2 separate regions of the Homo sapiens genome follow, and region 1 is linked to region 2. Evidence: promoter capture Hi-C in 16 types of primary human blood cells and fetal thymus (Javierre and others, 2016). All regions are on one chromosome and are shown on one strand. Each heading gives the region's core, a stretch centred on a gene start or on the middle of the fragment in contact. The rest is flanking DNA. Distances are from core to core; before and after follow the strand shown. Region 1 has its middle 140 kb from the start of NDRG1. Region 2 holds the start of CCN4 (cellular communication network factor 4).

The links. The method cuts DNA at HindIII sites, captures the fragments that hold promoters and counts their contacts. A CHiCAGO score of 5 or more calls a contact.
Region 1: a contact is called between a fragment that was not itself captured here and the fragment with the promoter of CCN4 in region 2, in 8 of 17 cell types (naive CD4 T cells, naive CD8 T cells, activated CD4 T cells and 5 more). The highest score is 8.6, in naive CD4 T cells.

What each region holds. Positions count from the first base shown.
Region 1 is chr8:133,431,521-133,434,220 of GRCh38, reverse strand. No RefSeq gene overlaps it. Among named protein-coding and RNA genes, the nearest start is that of NDRG1, 140 kb to the right of the region's middle. The HindIII fragment of the contact is 1,559 bases long and covers 646-2,204 here.
Region 2 is chr8:133,189,704-133,192,403 of GRCh38, reverse strand. CCN4 (cellular communication network factor 4) reads right to left here and starts at 1,365. Exons shown (of 5, transcript NM_003882.4): 1 at 1,191-1,365. The coding sequence starts at 1,259. RefSeq lists a silencer at 246-493. The HindIII fragment of the contact is 13,274 bases long and covers 1-2,700 here.

The DNA of each region.
Region 1 (2,700 bases), core at 176-2,675, 240 kb before region 2:
CAGCCTCTGCCAGGCAGCCCCTCCTGGGGTTCTAGCTCTATTAACCCTGGGATGCTAACACCGCATCCTCCAGCCCCAGCAAAGGAAGCTTCCTGCTGTTCTAACCTCTCAGTTGTCTCAATGTCCTCCTTGTGAGTAGGGTTACCAAAATTAGCAAATAGAAACACAGGAAGCCCAGTTAAATTTGCATTTCAGATAAACAACAAACCTATTTCCAAATATTACACGGGACATACAGTTTCATGTAAAAAAAATCATTGTTTATCCGAAATGCAAATTTAACTGGCAATTCTGTATTTTATCTGGCAACCCTACATAAAAGGCTTCTCAGTTCTTCCAATACCATTGAACCTAATTCTCTGGATTAAATTTCCTCTATTAAACTTTCAGTAGAAGCTCTTTGATTGCTGGATCCTACTTGCTACAGATGCTGAGTTCAATGTGAGCCAATGCATATTTCTGGAATCCTCAGATTATTCCCTATTCCAGCCTTCTACTCACCTTCCCACTCCCCATGAGTTCAAAGAAGAATACGGAATTTAAAACCAACATTCATTAAGCGTCTTATGTGCAAAGTACTAAAAAACTTGGCAGAGATAAAACACTTTGTTATCTTAATTGCTGGCATCAGAGCACCTCCAAGCTTTGTTTAAGAAAATACCTTCACAAGCCACTTGGGGTAGAATGTGAGACCCTGAGGGCAGGGACTGAGACAACGAAAGAACCGACTGCACAGCTCTGCTGAGGAAAATGAAGGGAATTTTTTCTTTGCCTCTGAGAGAGCAGGGAAGAGATGTTCCTGTTGATATATTGCTGTGGAGCAAAGATCCTAAAACTTAGTGACATAAAACAACTATTTTATTGTGCTCACGAATTCTGTGGGTCAGGAACTGGGACAGTGCATGGCAGGGGTGGCTCGCCTCTGCTCCAGGGTGTCTGGGACCTCAACTGGGAAGACTCAACCAATTGGGGTGACTCAATAGCAGGCACCTCGGGCCTGCTATTTTCGGTTTTTACAGATGGCACTTTTGGTTTTTACAGATGGGGCTTCATTCAGGGCTGGTGACCAGAGCATCTGTCACAACCTCTCCAGGTGATCAAGACTTCCTCACAGTACTGTGGCTCAGGGGAGTCGAACCTCTCACCTGTCAGCTCAGGTTTCCAAAAGCAGCGTCCAGTGGAGGAGGTGGAAGCTGCTTTGCAGGGAACATAATTACTCTCTCCATGCCCTGCTGGGGTGGAGCCGTCGCAGGCTGAGTAGTCCAGGGGCGAGGCAGAAACTGCCACTCTGGTTGGGAGCATGGCAGAGTTACATGGTAGAAGAGCATGTGAGATGGGATATATGGTTGCAACTTTTGTTGAGTCAAAAAGCATAATATGGAATAGAGGAGAGGCAGAAGAAGAAGAGGAAACCCAGAAAACTAGCATGCCATTAGAACAAAATGTGGAGGGAATGGCAGTGAAAACAGCCTGGGCGAGATAAGAGGTGGCCCTAGACATTTAAAAATGGGTCATTGCTGAGCATTGTTGTTCATGCCTGGGATCCCAGTACTTTGGGAGAGTAAGACAGGAGGACTGCTTGGGCCCAGGAGTTTGAGACCAGCCTGGGCAACGTCGTGAGACTCTATCTCCAAAAAGAAAAAAAAATAGCCAGGTGTGGTGGTCTGCACCTGAGGTCCCAGATGCTCAGGAGGCTGAGATGGAAGAATGGCTGAGACCAGGAGATCAAGCCCACAGTGAGTGGTAATGGTGTCACTACACTCCAGCTTGGGTAATAGAGGGAGACCCTGTCTTAGGAAATAAATACATAAACAAAGTAAAAAAAAAAAATAGGTTGTTGCATGTGTAGACATAGCTATGGAGTGAAGGCTCTCCTCTGCCTTCCACCTTTAGCCAAGGATCCTGCACACACACAAAGGCCTTGGGATGCTGTGTGTGTGTGTGTGTGTGTGTGTGTGTGTGTGTGTGTGTGTGTCAGTCACAGAAAGGGATGGAGTCTTATGCCTGACTTATCATAATGTAAATAAAGATGGAATGATGACACTGAAAATTAATGAATTCAACAGGAAGAAAAGCAAAGTGCCAGAACCCTGAGCCCTTGAACCCAAGTCCTCAGAAATGAGCAGACACTTGAGGTGGGCTTTGGATCTCCATAGAACATAGAACTCCATAGAACATTCATTTATTCATTCATTCAGCAAGCTTTGGTTGTGCACCAGAGACTGTGCTAGTTGCTGAGGCATCAATAGGGGCAAAAATAGCCAGGGACTGGCTTCATGGAGGTTCTACTTTAGTAGGAAAAGACTGGCAATACAACAGTAAGAAAATATAATACAAATAAAAATGTCAGGTTGGCTGACACCTGCAAAATCTCAGTGGCTTAACACAATGAAAATACATTTTTTTTCCTCAGACAGAAACTCAATATGGGGGTTTATTAGGAGGTCTTCCTTGATGTGGGGGTACAGGCTCCACTATCTCATGACTCCACAATTGGCTAAGAACATCTAGTCCTCACTGAATTCTCTGTGCCTGCCCTTACAGACAGGAGTAGAGAGAGCACAGAGGACAATGTGGAAGATTTTTTTCAAACCAGTACTCAAAACAGACCACACTACTCTCACCCACATACCATTGACTGGGGCATCGTCATAAAGCCACCCACACCTCACTGCAAACAAGGCTTGAAATGTGGTCCAG
Region 2 (2,700 bases), core at 116-2,615:
GCCAGGCGTGAGGATTTAACCAAGATGAAACAGACCCACTCCCCGCCATCATTACACACACCGAGGCATTGAGAGGAATTCCTATTTCCCAGGTCTCAGTTTGCTGTCGGCTCTCGGCCTCAGTTCTGGCTGAAGCAGACCTAGAGTCTGATTCTGGCAAGTGGTTTAACCCCAACACACGGTTTCCTTATCTGTGAAGGGGGCTTCTTAACCCCCAAGGAAGCCATCAGTGTCATTTGGGGATAAACACTCTTTTGCCATCACCCCTCCGTCTCTAGGCTGTTCTGCCAGGAGCAGGTCCTGCCCTGGGCTGTGGAATCTGGGGCTCAGAAGCTGCCAGGTACCCACCTCCTGCCCTCCTTGCACTGCCTGCCTCTGCCTTTTCCTCACCATGCCTGGCCCTAGCAGGCTGGCTCTACACGGTCACATATGTGACTCCCCTGGCTTTTGGAGGTGCAGACCTTTGTCCCTTCCCCTTGGTGTACCCTGGGGTGCAGGTGGAAGAGAGAGAGACTCTGGGGTGCCCACATCACCCCCACCCTGGAACAGCAGGCTTCATAGGCAGGACCCAAGTATGGACACTCTGCAGACTGCAGAGGGCTGTGCAGACCGGAGGTGACAGCAGTTGGGGTTAGACATCACCCTGAGCACTGTTTGCTCAATAAGGAGCTTTTGTTGAAAGCTGGCATTTTTCTTTCCAATTTTTTTTGGCTTTTTCCATCTCCCATCTTCGCAGCATCTCCAATGCTTGGAGTCTTGGAGTTTTCAAACTCAGAGACTCTAGAAGTCACCTAACAACTTCGTCGCTTTACGCTGCTCCTGGAGGGTGAGTGACCCACCCGAGGCCACACAGCCAGGTTAGGCGAAGACGGGTCTGGAGCCCGGGCCCCTGACTCCCAGTTCTGCTGAGGGCCCCGTTCTTTCTGCACTGTTTCAGGTGGGGAGAGAGGGCAGGCTGGACCTGTGCAGTTTGTTTCCCCAAGTGTCGCACCGTCCTCCTCACCCTGCCAGCTTCAGCCAACCTGGGCAGCTGACTCCTCACCCTGGGCTCTGTCCTTGCCCTGTAAGTGGCCACCTTCCAGCCCCAAACCTTCCTGGCCCTTTTCATCCTGCCCACCAGCCCCCATGTAGCAGGACCCAGTAGAGAAGGGAGCTGGGTCTCCCTCTGAGCCCCTCCAGGCAGGACTCACCGTGGCCAGGACGGTGCTGGCGGCTGCTGCTGTCACTGCTGCCAGCGTCCAGGGCAGGAACCACCTCATGCCTGGACGTCAGTGGCACAGGCATCGACCGAGCAGCCCAGAGGATCCGACCACCTCTCGGGGGAGCTGGGCCCAGACTGGCCGGCCCATCAGGAGCACCAGATATGCCTCTTCCGCAGCCCTTGGGGGGTTTTATTAAAGCAAGATCTGACGTCAGGGTGAAGGACAAACCCTGCATTTTCCTCTGAAAAAACTTTTCCTGCCTCTCTCTCTTTTTTTTTTTTCTTTCTTCCCTCTGTCCCCACCTCCAGCCTGAGCTTGGCCAGCCTCCCCAGCTCTGACAGTTCTTAAAGGGAAAGTTACAAGGCTATGACTTCACACTAGGGTGTGAAATTCTCACAGAGGAGCTGGGGTCATCCTGCCTAGGTCTTTCACTACTGTAGGGAGGGGGGAGCATGGGAGGGTGCAGGATGTCCGAGGAGATACTGTTACCCCAGGCAGGCGGGTGTGTGGGCTTTGAGAGGGCTCCCAGTGGGAAATCAACTCCCTGTCATTTCTTCAGGCTGCTCCTACTTCTGGTTTTCTTTTTCCTTTTCTTTTTCTTTTTCTTTTCTTTTCTTTTTTTTTTTTTTTTTTTTTTTTTTTGAGACAGAGTCTCGCTCTGTCGGCCAGGCTGGAGTGCAGTGGCGCGATCTCTGCTCACTGCAACCTCTGTCTCCCAGGCTCAAGCAATTCTCCTGCCTCAGCCTCCTGAATAGCTGAGATTACAGGCATGTGCCACCACACCCAGCTGATTTTTGTATTTTTAGTAGAGACGAGGTTTCACCATGTTGGCCAGGCTGGTCTCAAACTCCTGACCTCAGGTAATCCGCCCACATCAGCCTCCCAAAGTGCTGGGATTACAGGCGTGAGGCATTGCGCCCAACCCTACTTCTGGTTTTCATTTGCCCTCTTGCACTCCCCTCTACCTAGCTGCAAGCGAAAGAGGTGGCTTTCAGTCCACCCATCTAGAGATGATAGGAATTCACAAATAAAATGAGCTCTGAGGCTCAGGTTACAGCATCACCTTCATGACACGTGAAAGCCACGGTAACGCATTTGCTGTTTGCCGTCTCTGCTCATTGGTCAGAAGCCGTTTGGTGCTGGAGCTGTCCCCACGTGTCTCTGGATGCTTGCTATCCCTGGGGGGTTGGGTTTCCTGGCCTGTACCCTTATTGCACTGCTGCCACTGAGTCTCTTCCTTGGGCAAGAAAGGAGATGGGATGTCTTCTATGGGCTGTCCTAGTCCAGCCCTGTGCTCCCCATGGGGACCGCTGCCACAGCCTCCTGACTGATACCCAGCCTCCCTGCCCACCTTCTACCATCCACACATCTCAGAGCAATCCTTGAACTAGCGTCATGTATAGATCATCTTCTGGATACAACTGTCCAAAGCCTGCCCATCACACAGCACAGAGTCCCCAGTCCTGGCGTGGCCCCTGGGCCAGCCAGCTCCCTGTAC